Linked DNA regions of Homo sapiens: region 2 is linked to region 1. The links are contacts of gene promoters, found by promoter capture Hi-C in human tissues and cell types (Jung and others, 2019). All regions are on one chromosome and are shown on one strand. Each heading gives the region's core, a stretch centred on a gene start or on the middle of the fragment in contact. The rest is flanking DNA. Distances are from core to core; before and after follow the strand shown.

What was found. The method cuts DNA at HindIII sites, captures the fragments that hold promoters and counts their contacts. A contact is called where the count stands out against the background at its distance.
Region 2: a contact is called between a fragment that was not itself captured here and the fragment with the promoter of RIMS3 in region 1, in 1 of the 25 tissues and cell types used here (pancreas).

The regions. Positions count from the first base shown.
Region 1 is chr1:40,661,101-40,667,617 of GRCh38, reverse strand. It overlaps RIMS3 (regulating synaptic membrane exocytosis 3), which reads left to right and starts at 1,936. Exons shown (of 8, transcript NM_014747.3): 1 at 1,936-2,224. It overlaps LOC105378675 (a long non-coding RNA gene), which reads right to left. Exons shown (of 2, transcript XR_947238.3): 2 at 1-1,630. RefSeq lists a silencer at 1,791-2,220 and an enhancer at 3,668-4,325. The HindIII fragment of the contact is 12,473 bases long and covers 1,148-6,517 here.
Region 2 is chr1:40,719,818-40,726,594 of GRCh38, reverse strand. All of the region lies in intron 1 of NFYC (nuclear transcription factor Y subunit gamma), which reads right to left. Among named protein-coding and RNA genes, the nearest start is that of NFYC-AS1, 31 kb to the right of the region's middle. The HindIII fragment of the contact is 5,530 bases long and covers 746-6,275 here.

The DNA.
Region 1 (6,517 bases), core at 687-3,186:
ACCCCCTCTCCACCCACCTCCCATCCAGTCCTTCTGGTAACCAATATAGAACTTTGAAGATACTGAAATTATATGCAAAATATACATTGCACATCTCCAGAGAGATAGTGCTAAGTTTTCATCAGATGTGCAAAGGGAACCCCTGGTTTACCTGTCTCTGTGAAAGGGGCCAGGGAGGAGCACACAGGAAGCCTGATTCCTCTCTGTGCTCCCACCCCTCACCTCCACCCTCGTTCCAGGTCCTGCCCTGGCCTCCATCCCACCTCCCCTAATCTAGTCCCCCTTGCTGCTCCAGAGTAACCCATTCTACCACCCAGGCCCTAGTCCAGGCCTAGGCCTGAGGTAGAATAGCTGATAACAAAGCTTTAATTAATATGTAAATATAATCAGGAGCCCCAGCTCCACCTCTGACCAGCTATGGAACGCACTTTGAGGCTTTTCACATTGTAGGGCCTCAGTTTATGCTTCTCACAGACCAGGTGAGAAGGGAAGGCGTAGGATGACTATGCCTCCTAGCAATCCCCAGGAGGATCCTTTAATCCCAATAATTTTCCTTTTTCTCCCCACCTTCCCACTCCCCATTTACTTTTTTTTGAGACAGAGTTCCCCCTGTCACTCAGGCTGGAGTGCAGTGGTGCGACCTCGGCTCACTGCAACCTCCGCCTCCTGGGTTCAAGTGATTCTCGTACCTCAGCCTCCCGAGTAGCTGGGACTATAGTTGTGTGCCACCACACCTGGCTAATTTTTGTATTTTTAGTAGAGATGGGGTTTCACCATGTTGGCCAGGTTGATCTCGAACTCCCAGCCTCAAGCAATCCACCCACCTTGGCCTCCCAAAACACTGGTACAGGCATGAGCCACCGCACCCAGCTCCCATTTACATTTTAATTCATGCCCTCAGCAGGGAGACTACTGGTTTTACATGCCTCCAGCAAATATTAATTATTCTGTCCTCTCTGTCAGTGGGTGGAATTCAAAACACTGGAGCCCAAGAGTGGAACTGACCAGTCCTAAGCAAGGTTAAATATACAAGTTGGGGCAGGCACGACCCTAGGAAAGACTTCATACAGTATCCTCCCGGGCTGCAGAAGAACCCAGGACTCCAGGAGTCTATTTGGAAGTTTATATAGGCAGATGCCAGGCCCTAGAACAGAGTTTCTCAACCTCAGAAACCTGCTGACATTTCGGGCCTGACAATTCTCTGGCGCAGGGGCTGTCCTGTGCATTGAAGGCGTGTAGCAGCATCCCTGGTCTCTTCTCATGAGACGCCAGTAGCAACCTCCTCGTTGGGAAAACCAAAAATGTCTCCAGACATGGTCGAATGTTCCCTGGGGGGCAAAATCGCCCCAAGTTTAAAACCATTGCTCTAGAAGTAGAGAGCGCAGGGGAAGCAGGTTAACTTGGGCTTCAGGGCCGGCCACTCTACTTCCTTCTGTCTGAAAGGGACATTATAAAGTCTTTCTCTTCATACCAGGCACTTGGGCAAGTCTTTTCTCCTATCTGAGCTTCAGATTTTCCATCTGTAAAATGGACTTGACGTTTGTAAGTCGTTTCTTCTCTTACCATCTGACGTTCCTGGAACTGCTTCAGGGCAGGGCAGGGCAGGGGGCGCCGTGGTGCCTGTGAGGTCCTGGGAGGTGCCCCAAAGAAAAGGAAGGATGAGAAAGAACAGATAGGGTAGGTGGTGGAGAGGGGAGGCCGGGCAGGAGGCAAGAGAGTCCTAGGGACACGGAGAGGAATGAGGCTTCCCCAGACCCCGCTTCTTGGAAGCCTCATTAATGTAGGTCCCCCAACCACAACCCGGCAAGCCAAACTCCCCGGATTCCCCTAGGCCCCGCCCACCACCAAGGTCCGGCCCACTGGCCCCGCCCATCCACGCGGCCCCGCCCCCGGCAGGCCCCGCCTCCCCTTCGCCTCCCGCCGGCCCAAGCTTGGGCTTTGCACCCGGCGGCGACTGAAAACGGTGGCTGCTGCGGAGCCGGCAGCGCAGGCGGGCGGAGCGGAGCTGCCCCCGTGGTGGCGGGCGATGCCCCCGTGAGCCTCCCTCGCCGCCCCTCCCCGCCCCGCGTGCCTATCCACTCGGAGTCCGCGCCAGCCTGGGGCCGGGCCGCGCCTACTGCCGGGTTCGCGGGGCGGGGTCCCGGGGCAGCACCTGCCCCGCCTTGCGGAGCCGCCTCGGCCTGTGGAGGCCCCCTCCCTGTCTGGACCCCGGCCCCACCTCCGGGTAAGTCAGCAGGCCTTGCTCGCCTGGGAGTGGACGTGGGGAGGGGGCTGCAGAGGTCTGGAGGACCACGGGGGGAGGGGGGCTCTGGCCATGAAGCGCAACGTAGGTATGTGAGTGTGCAGGGGCGGGGGTGGGGGGATGAACACAGGGTGTGAGAGGGCTCTGGGGAGGGGACTAAGGGATGAGAGAGGGACGTGGGGTGTTTGGGGAAGCCTGGAAAATGGGGAAGGGGGCCCAGAGTCTTGAGTTCTTTGCTGATGCTCAGAGCTCCTGGGGCCCTGGTCTTCAACAGCATTGCCTGGCATGGCATTTTTGGAAAGTGCTTAAAATCCCTCCTGGAAAGGGAGCTGGAAGGCAGCCTGCTTTTCTCCCTTCTGCCTGTGCCCTGGTTGAGAAGCAGCCACTTTTTCCTCAACGTGACACCGTTGTGGTGTCCAGAGGACCCCCTCCACCCCATAAAAGAAAAGGAGTGCTGCTTACTCCAGCCCTGGGGTGGGAAGAGGGGGCTTTGGGAAGCTGGGAATGCAGTTGGTCAGCAGCATGGTGCAGAGCCCAGGGTTCAGGGAGGCTTGGCAGGACCCTTGATGGGCAACTTGGGCATGCTCTCATTCATAGGGAGGAGCTCTTCCCTGACTGGCCGCCTGGGTACCTGGACTCCATGTCCCCATCACCTCTGGACAACTCAGCCCTGAGGAGTGGGTTTCTTCAGTGTCCTGGTCCTGAAGGCTCAGGAAGGATCCTGGAATGGGGTGGGCAATGGCATATCAAGGCTGGAGAACAGGGGGCATTGGCTGGCACTGCCACTTGGGGCCTGTTTCAATGTGGTCCTTCAGGGCTTGGACACCTGGGTGAATATGTGTCCAACCCTAGCCCCAGGGGTGTTATCAGGATGTAGGGAAGAAGGCTGCTGCTCCTTTGGTCCTGTCCTCTATCCATGATGACTTCTTAAGTCTGGGTTCCTTGGGTTTGGGGCCTGAAGTCATGGGAGGAGGATTGGGCCTGGTCAACAAGGGGTTAATGAGCCATCTCCCCCACCCCACCATAGTTGCTGCCAGCCACCAATTAGTCTGTAATCAGGCAGCTGCCAACTGTCCCTGGGGGCATGTGGGTAGCCTAATGGGGCATTCTTGGTTGGGAGGCGGGGTGGGTGGGTTGGCAGGGATGTGCTGGGGAGGTGACCCATGTGCCCTGTGCTTAAACCAAGCACCATGCCCTTTGTTGTTTGTTTAGGGCCCACAGACCCCTTCCCTGCCTTCTGTTCCTGACTGCCTTGCTTAGGGACTTCCAGCCCTGGGGTTCTACACTTATCCGACCCTTTGCAGGGTATGAAGCCCAGAGTTGGTTAAACTTGGCTTCAAACCCAAGCTCTGCCACTTTCTGGCTGTGTGATATTGAGGAAATCACTTCCCCTCTCTGAGACTCTTTCAGTAAAACAAACCCAGCTGCTATGTGGGTAGCAGGAAGGAGTGAGTGAAATGGTGGATTTGAGCTGCGCAGCACAGTGCCTGGCACTCAGGAGGGCTCAGCAGCTAACTGCTGAACTCATGAGCAACCCCTGTGCCAAGTACTTGCTGGGCGGGCGTGCAGGAGCCAGGTGCTGAGGACCCAGCAGGGACCACGGTCCCTTCTCCCAGGGCATGTGGTCTGTGTCACTGTCTTAACTATTCTCTCTCCCTCCCTCCTTGCTCAACGACGCTTCTGGTCTCTGGACTTTAATTGGATTTTACTGCGCAGAACCCAGGCCTAAAGCTGCTACTCTCTGGGCTTCCCAACTTCCTGCCCAGGTGCTGAGCTCTGTGGGGTCTGTCAGGGGTCTGGGTGATGTCTGCAGCTGCAGTAGCAGCTGGCCCTTTAAGGAGGGAAGAAAACAATTATCTGGCCTGGGCATTGCATCAGCTGGAGCCTGGAGGGTCCCTGGGGAGGGGGGAGCAGGCTGGTGGTTGATTTCATTAGTGCCATGTGAGAACTCTCACCTGCCCCACTCCCCAGCCACAACCTTCTCCCCCAGGCAACAGCTGCCTCAGTGCCTCCTCCCACTCCAGGGGCACCACCTTGGAGAGGTCTCTGTGTGTACCCCCCAGTCAATGTCATGGGCCCCAGAAGAGGAGGGAAGTGTCTCTCACATTGGCCTTTTGCTGACTGTGGCACTGTCTCTCCTGTTAGCAATCTGCTGACTTGGGGTGCAGGGTGCGTCTCCTGTACTGGCATTTTGCTGACGATGGGGGTGTTTCTCCCACACTGGCATTTTGTTGACCCAGGGGAGGAGTGACTTCTACACTGTCCTCACTGACAGTGGGGCTGTCTCCTACACTGGTATATCACTGACCTCACAGAAGAGCTTTACCAGCTGGGGTGTGTGTGAACTGAAGGCGGAGGTTAGAAACAAGTGCTCTCTGGTTGGAGGTGAGCTTGCTGGGAATGGTGAGTCACAGGGGTTGTGTGGTTTGGGGCAGAGAAGAGACCAGGCACTTGGGCATCAGACAGACAGGATTCAAATCTAATGCCTTCCGCTTCCAACCTGTTACCACTTCAGGCAGGTGGCCTCAACTACCAAGTCTCAGTCTCCTCTGGAAAATAGGAATAATTTATACCCATACTTCTCCACCCCATCTGGAATGTGGTTAGGGAATTAACTGTAGTAACCAGATGTATAGTACCTAGTCTAGAGCTGGCAGGGGGAGGGTGCATACTGTATGATGGTTCTCTTCCCTTTGCAAGTTTGGGCTTTTCATAGCTTGAGCTCAAGAAGCCTGGACAAGAAAAGGAGGGTCCGGGAGGAGTGAAGAAAAAAGGAGAAAGAATGCCTGGCCCTCTTGCCTCTGTGGCAGAAGGATGCATTCAGTCCACCAGGTACCTCTGATGTATCAGACTCTATGAGCCAGGCGGCCCCTGCCCTCACGGAGGTGACATTCTAGTGGGGACATGACCCAGAGCAGGTAATTACACATGGCATGTGTGTAGAAAGGAGGGACTTGGGCTCTGGAACCTATCACTGAAGTTGCTCTCCTGCAGTCTGTAATCTGGGAAAGGTTCCTGGAGGTGGCGACATCTTAGCTGAGTCATGAAGGGTGCCAAGGAATTGTAGAGGCGAAGAAGGGATGAGGAAGGGGAACTGTGTGTCTGAGGCCCTGTTGATGGTGAGAACAGGCTTGGCGTGGTAGAGGGAGGGCAGTGTGGGCAGGCCCAGGACAGCCTGGCCCGATTTCCTAGTCTAGCAGGATACTAAAGACTTGGGAATTTATCCTCAGGCCAATGGCAACCCCTAAAGGGTTTTAAGCAGAAAAGGCAAGATCAGATTTCCCCAGAATGTTAGGGTCTATGGCCCTCAGGCAGAGCCTTCTTGGGAGTGACTTTTTGCCCTCTCCTACCCTTTTCCCTGTGCAGCAGCCTCGGTCCCAGGGAACCGGTTGTTTATGTGGCTGGCCCCAGGAGGGAGGACAGCCAGTCCCAGTCCCTCCAGCTCCTTCTCTCTGGTCTAAGCTGTATCGTGGCCTTGTTGACAAAGCTCAGCCCTTGGGGCCAGGTTCTCCCAACCTCCCTGGGGAGCCAGAGGGCAAGAGGCAGGGTTTTGCACCAGGCTGCTCTGTGCCCACATCCCAGCTCTGCAGTTCCTGAGCTGGGTAATCTCTGGGAAGGCATACCCGTCTCTGAACTTCTGTGTCCTCAACTATAAAATGGAGTTGATGATATCTCTAGGAAAACGATAAAGTGAAATTCCACATGGAAACCATAAACCCTATCTGGATGTCAGTTGGCATTTTTACTCTGTTGTGTGGGGGCTGACATCAACTCTGGGCCGGGCCCAGGGCTGGCTGGGGGTGGGAGCAGGGCTGGTTTCAAGAGTCAGTGGTCACGCAGGGCCCTGCGCCTAGAAGGACCCCACACTTAATGTTCTGCTGACACCGTCTTAAAATTTTTAGTAACTTTGAACAAGGGGTCCTGCATTTTCATTTAGCACTGGGCTCTGCATATTATATAGCCCCACAAATCGGGTAGGGGTAGGAAGAGGCAGGGAGAGACATGGATCTGCAAATGGTTCCCAAGGATGAGGTGGAGGGCATTACTAACTGTCCCAAGGTGGGTGGGATGTTAATAAGAATAACACTTATTTAGTGCTTACTGTGTGCTAGTTCTCTGCCCATCGCTTTACATGCTCATCTTTAAACAGTCCTATGAGGTAGGTACTATTATCATCTCTGTGGTATAGATGAGGAAACTGAGGTGACCTAGCCAAAGTCGCACAGCTATCAAGTGGCAGAGCTGGGATTCAAAACCAGGTTGTCCAACTGCAGA
Region 2 (6,777 bases), core at 2,261-4,760, 57 kb before region 1:
ATACAAAAAATACAAAAATCAGCTGGGTGTGGTGGCACGTGTCTGTAGTCCCAGCTACTTGGGAGGCTGAAGTAGGAGGATGGCTTGAACCTGGAAGGCAGAGGTTGCAATCAGCCAAGATCATGACACTGTACTCCAGCCTGGGTGACAGTGTGGAGAGAGGAAAAAAAAAAAACAGGCCAGATGCGGTGGCTCACGCCTGTAATCCCAGCACTTTGGGAGACTGAGGTGGGTGGATCACCTGAGGTCAGGAGTTCGAAACCAGCCTGGCCAACATGGTGAAACCCCGTCTCTACTAAAAATACAAAAATTAGCTGGGCATGGTGGTGCGGGCCTGCAATCCCAGCTACTTGGGAAGCTGGGGCAGCAGAATCGCTTGAGCCCAGGAGGCAGAGGTTGCAGTGAGCTGAGATGGCGCCACTGCACTCCAGCCTGAGCAACAGGAGCGAAACTCCATCTCAAAAAAAAACACACACACACACACACAAACACATACACAGAAATTGCCAAAGCCACCCCAAACTTCAGCAACTACCACCCGAATCAGTCAGCAGCCATCATCATCAAGTCAAGACCCTCAAGCAGCAAAAGGTTATGACTTGCTGCAAGTTCAGATGATAATTTGCATTTTTACCAATAAGGTATTTTAAAATTAAAATAAGCACATTTTTTAGACATTATGCTGTTGCACACTTAATAGGCTACACTATAATATAAACATAACTTCTATTTGCACTGGGAAACCAACAAATTTGTGTGACTCTCTTTATTATAATGTTAGCTTTATTGTATTTTGCCCTAGTGGCAGCACTATCACAAGCATTTTATGTACCAGTACTGCTCAGGTATTTACTGAGGTTAGTTCTAGGTTTCTTCATTTAAATGAGCTAAGGTTTGTAAGATGTTATATTTTAAATGATGATGGGAGATACAGAGAAAGGAAGAATATTAATAAAAATAAATGGATGGATGAGGGAAAGGGGGGTAGGATTTATTTACTAACAGACTATTTGGTTTTTATGTTTACACAGATGGACCTTAGGACTTATGCTATTATCGATCACAACAGCTAAAAAGCATTTCTTAAGAAGGCTTATACTCTCCAAAATAAAACCAATCTAAAATTGACAATTTCACAAGAAGAAAAACAGCACTGGTCTGGAAATTAAAAGACCTACGTCTGTGTACTGGACGCTTGCTGCCTACTAGCTGGTGGCCCTGGGCCAGTCACTCTACTAAGCCACTCCAGCAATGATGTATACTGAACACATTCCAAAGGGGTCTCTGGTGGTTTGGTGGGGAAGTCCTACACTTCACTACTTGAAGATGCAATAAATGAATGAATACAAGGGAAGGCAAAGTGACTAGAGAGAAGAGAAGGTTCAATAGTCTCTATTTAAACTCATCTAAGGTTTTTATATAGTCATGCAGGAAACTAAGTTCAGGCACTACGTTTAGTGCCTGAAACCTTATTACTTACATTCTAAACCCTTACATAGCTGGGTACCAGCTGGTCATATTTACTGGCAGGCTACTGAATAGTCTTCACTACTATAATACAAGAATGAATAACATAGCTCTACTTCCCCAACTCTGATTAATGCCAAGTTTGACGTTTGAAGGTATATCTGTGTTAAGAGGAAGCCGCTTTTCAAAGTGCCTACTGGAAAACCATGCTTCCTAAAAGACTTAGGCTTAGAAGTGGCTGCACACTGCTCTCCTTAAAGATCTGTACACAAGGACACATTTTCAAACTGGCAGAAGAGCCACTTTTCCTTCAAAAACAAAAATACTTTTCTATTTGGTATCTAGTACAATATAATCTTTGAAACAGGGGCCAGATCATAATATAGTTGTAGCACAACTAGAGAAAAATGAAGGCACAGCAACTGGTATAAACAATGAAAGTGACGGGAAGGCATGAACAGAACATTTGAAAACTTTTTTCTGTGGAATAGAAAACGATATGTAACATCTTACTTCACACACATTCTTACTCATCCTTTCAATGCTCAAACTTAAACCATCTCTGCATATATAACAGCAATAAAACACTATCAGTATTTTGTATGATGAAGAAAAAGGATCAAGTATTTAGTGAAGTATTCTAAAGCAAGGGTCTAAAAACTACAGCTCATAGGCCACATCTGGCCTACAGCCTGTTTTTAGAAACAGTTTCACTGGAAGACATCAACCCTAATTATTTATTTATTTATTCATTTACTTTTAGACGGAGCCTCAGTCTGTCATCCAGGCTGGAGTACAATGGCACGATCTCGGCTCACTGCAACCTCCACCTCCCGGGTTCAAGCGATTCTCCCACCTCAGCCTCCCAAGCAGCTGGGATTATAGGCACCCGCCATCACACCCAGCTAATTTTTGTATTTTTGAAGAGACGGGTTTCACCATGTTGACCAGGTTGGTCTTGAACTCCTGACCTTAAGTGATCTGCCCACCTCGGCCTCCCAAAACGCTGGGATTACAGGCGTGAGCCACCATGTCCAGCCCCTAATTAGTTTATATTGTCTGTTCATGCTAAACAGTAGAGTTGAAGAGTTACAACAAAAATCATACAGCCACAAAGCCTAAAATATCTGGCCCTTTAAGGAAAAAGGTTCAGCCAGGCATGGTAGCTCATGCCTCTAATCCTAGCACTCTGGGAGGCCAAGGCGGGAGGATCACTTGAACCCAAGAGCTCGAGATCAGCCTGGGCAACATAGTGAGACCCCCATCTCAATAGAAAATAAAAAATAAAAAACTAGCCAGGTGTAGTGGCCCACACCTGTAGTCCCAGCTACTCACGAGGCTGAGGCGGGAGGACTGCTTGAGCCTGGGTGGTCAAGCCTGCAGTGAGCCATGATTGCGCCACTGCACTCCAGCCTGAGCAGGAACAGCAGAGCAAGATCCTGTCTCAAAAAAAAAAGAAAAGAAAAGAAAAAGTTTCAGATAATATTCTGATCTTGTTTTAAAGCACTGTTAGGTGTTTTATTTATCCCTGATTTACTGATGGGGAAACTGACACTAGAAGTTGAGAAGCTGGTCCTAGATCACACAACTGTTACTTAGCTCCCCTGCCTCCCTCACCTGTTCATCCTCAATTAGAAGTAAGCTGGGCCAGACCCCCTCTGCCCCACAGAAGTATCTGTTAGTCTCTCTGACCCTCCAGCCTAACGAGTAAATAAATCCTTGTAGGAAGAATGGTGAGTAACTGGTTTTTCAGGCCTCAATCCCGAAAAGGAATTGTGACATGAGCTAGAGACAGAAAGAGTGCCTGTAGCCTAAGTTAAGTTGTATTCTAAAACAAAGCATCATTTTCTTACCGGGTGCCTTCTGAGATTCACAAACAGCCTCTTGCCCAGTTTCTGGCAGTATCCTGTGTTTGTGTGTCTAGCAGAGGGAAGAAGTGTGATTCTGAAGAATGTTTCATAGATGCCAACTTACGGGCTTCAGAGTTCATAAAATACATGCCACATACATCATCCTCAATTGACCCTTACTTAGCTCAGTGATAAATTTACCAATATTATTCCAATTTTACAGATAAGGTTGAGGGTTGAATATCAAATTACTTGCTCAAGATCACAATACAATAAATGATGAGTCAAAATGCAAAAGCTCTAAAATTCTGTCTTGATTTATTATAACTTGCTCTTTCCCACTTTTTGCACTGTTTAAGCTGTCACTCTTTTTTCTTTTCTGTTTTATCCTTCCCCTTTGCATGTCTCTAGGCAGGTTAGCAGCACCTATGAATACTCAGCTGCGAACAGTTGGGGGCACTAAAGCACGAGGTAAATACATAAATAAATAAAATGTATTGGACCTGGGGGTTCTTAGCTCTCTGGCGAACTGTGATCTTGAGCAAATCTCTTAACTTCTTAGAAACTTCTCTATTCATCTAAAGCAACATCCCACAGAGCAGCTGAAACACACAAATGGTAAAACACATGTTAGAAGGCCTCAAAAAATAGCAAGCTTCATACAAATGCCAGATGGCATCATATCATCATGGCTGCCTGAAGCTAGACAAGACACCAACTACTGGTCTGAAGAGTCCCAGATACAGTACCGAGCCTAAAGACCAACTAGCTTCTTTTTCTCTATAATTTAGACTTACTTTGCTTTTGACATATTTCTTTAAAAAGCCTAGTTTCAGATGCATGGAAATACATATTAAAATAGAGAAAGATGTTCTCCTATCTCTTTTATAAACATGAAATAATTTTTAAGCCCTTTAAACTATTAAATTTGGAACAAATGTACTAGTTCCAAAAAAGCAAAGAATTCAAGCTGAACATGGGAACGTTCCAAATTTAAATCCTTGGGTGTGTCAATGATCAATAGCTATACTAGGTTTTCTCTCCACACTAATCCAAAAACATTTAAATTCTTTTTTTAAATTAATTATTTATTTATATATATTTTTTGGGATGGAATCTCACTCTGTCACCCAGGCTGGAATGCAGTAGCATGATCTTGGCTCACTGCAAGCTTCGCCTCCCGGGTCCACACCATTCTCCTGCCTCAGCCTCCCAAGTAGCTGGGACCACAGGTGCCCACCACCACGCCTGGCTAACTTTTTTGTATTTTTAGTAGAGACAGGGTTTCACCGTGTTAGCCAGGATGGTCTCCATCTCCTGACCTCCTGATCCGCCCACCTTGGCCTCCCAAAGTGCTGGGATTACAGGCATGAGCCACCGCGCCCGGCCTTCAATTCTTAGAATATGTCTCCTTGGGCTGGGAACGGTGGCTCATGCCTGTAATCTCAGCACTTTGGGAAGCCAAAGCAGGAGGATCGCTTGAGCCCAGGAGTTCAAGATCAGCCTGGGAAACATAGAAAGACCTCGTCTCTACAAAAAAGAAAAAAAAATTAGCCTGTGTGGTGGCACGCACCTGTAGCTCCCGCTACTCAGGAGGCTGGGGCAGGAGGATCACTTGAGCCGAGGAGCTGGGAGACTGCAATGAGCCATGATTGCACTACTGCACTTCAGCCTGGCAACAGAGTGAGACCCTGTATCAAAAAAAAACCCCAAAAAAACCCACAACCACCACCATCTCCTTGGATACCTAAGACTTCCACAAGCTAGGAGTACGTGCCTGTTTTGTCTTGTGAAAGGAATCTTGTTTATGTTAGAGGGTAGAGGAAACCTGGAGTCCAGGCAGCTCCCCACTCAACCTGGCCCCACCATCCAAGCAAAAGATTCTGTTTGGAGCTCTAAAGAGAGCTCCACCCACTTCCATCTATATCCAACATCCTGAAGTGAACATGAAGGAAACATGTTCTGGAAAGTTGGAATTTCTCAGACTATCTCATGGGTTGAAACCAATGTTTAAGGCTCTTCTGCAATAGCATTGATAAGAAGCTTGCCTTTACAGTACAAATGTAAAGAAATTAAACACTGTCTACACATTCACTAATCAGTGATGATAAATTTTTTTTCTCCCCAAGAAACCATTCCTGGCACACAATCAAATCTATTTCTCTAATTAGCATATTCACTTGCTTCAGACTTGTGTAACATGTTCTCTTTTTTTAGGGGGCATATTATTTTTTAAGCTTAAATTTTTCATGCTCCTATTTTTTCCCCCGTTTGTAAGACAAACATAATCATTTTGTTTCTGATACACCCTCAAGGCAAATATGCCTTGCACATAGTGGGGATTCAATACACATCTACTGAATGAACAAACACAGGTTCCTCAAGAACTTAAAAAAAAATTTTTTTTAAATAACAGTGTCTTGCTCTGTTGCCCACGCTGGAGTGCAGTGGCGTAATCATGGCTCACTGAAGCCTCAACCTCCTGGGTTCAAGTGATCCTCCCCTGCTCAGCCTCCTGAGTAGCGGGGACTACAGGTGCTTGCCACCATACCTGGCTAATTTTTAAAATTTTTTGTAAAGACAGGGTCTTGCTATCTTGCCCAGGCTGGTCTCAAACTCCTGGGCTCAAGTGATCCTCTCACTTTGGCCTGCCAAAGTGCTGGGATTACAGATGTGAGCCACCATGCCTGGACAAGAACTATTTTAAGACCCCAAGTATCCTTGGCCTCATTCTAGGTACTTTTCTTTGAAATGGGAAAATTCCTTCTTAAGTATCTGTGCTCAGTTGTGCAGTAACCTTTGTGCAGTAATCCAATGGAAGAGCCACAAGAGTGGGGTTGGAGAAAAACTTGTTCTACTTTGGAAAATGTAGACAATTATCTAATCATCGGCTCCACTGAAAAATGGGAGATTGTGCTGGTGACTTAATACATCTAAAAACCAGGGGGGTGGTGGGACAGGGGAAGGCAGAAAATTGTCAATTAAAAACCTAGAGGGCGTTATAATAATGTCAATATGAGCTTGGCTGTATTGATTCTGCTGTCTAGATTCTGCTCATTCAGATACACTGTGAATTCTTCCCTCTGTTTAGTGTCTTTTATTGATTTAAATGTTTAAAAGAGGAGAAGAAAGAAAGGAAAACGACATGAAATGAGACAAATCTTCCAAGCCAACCAAACCATAAATCTCTTAACTTCATGTATACAGCTGTCAGGAACTGAGAACATAAAGACCTCTTCAAAGAGGGCAAAGTGACTGAGATAGTTATGCTAATCCCTTACATTTGTACATACTTTACACTTCTTAAAGTAGTTTCATGTTATTTTATGTGTTTCTCACCATAAACACATAAGATAAGCAACACATCTGACAGATAAAGATACTTTATCCAGGTGGACTGAGGAACTTGGCAGAATTCACCAGGACAAGTATATGCCACAGGTGAAATTAAAATTCATGT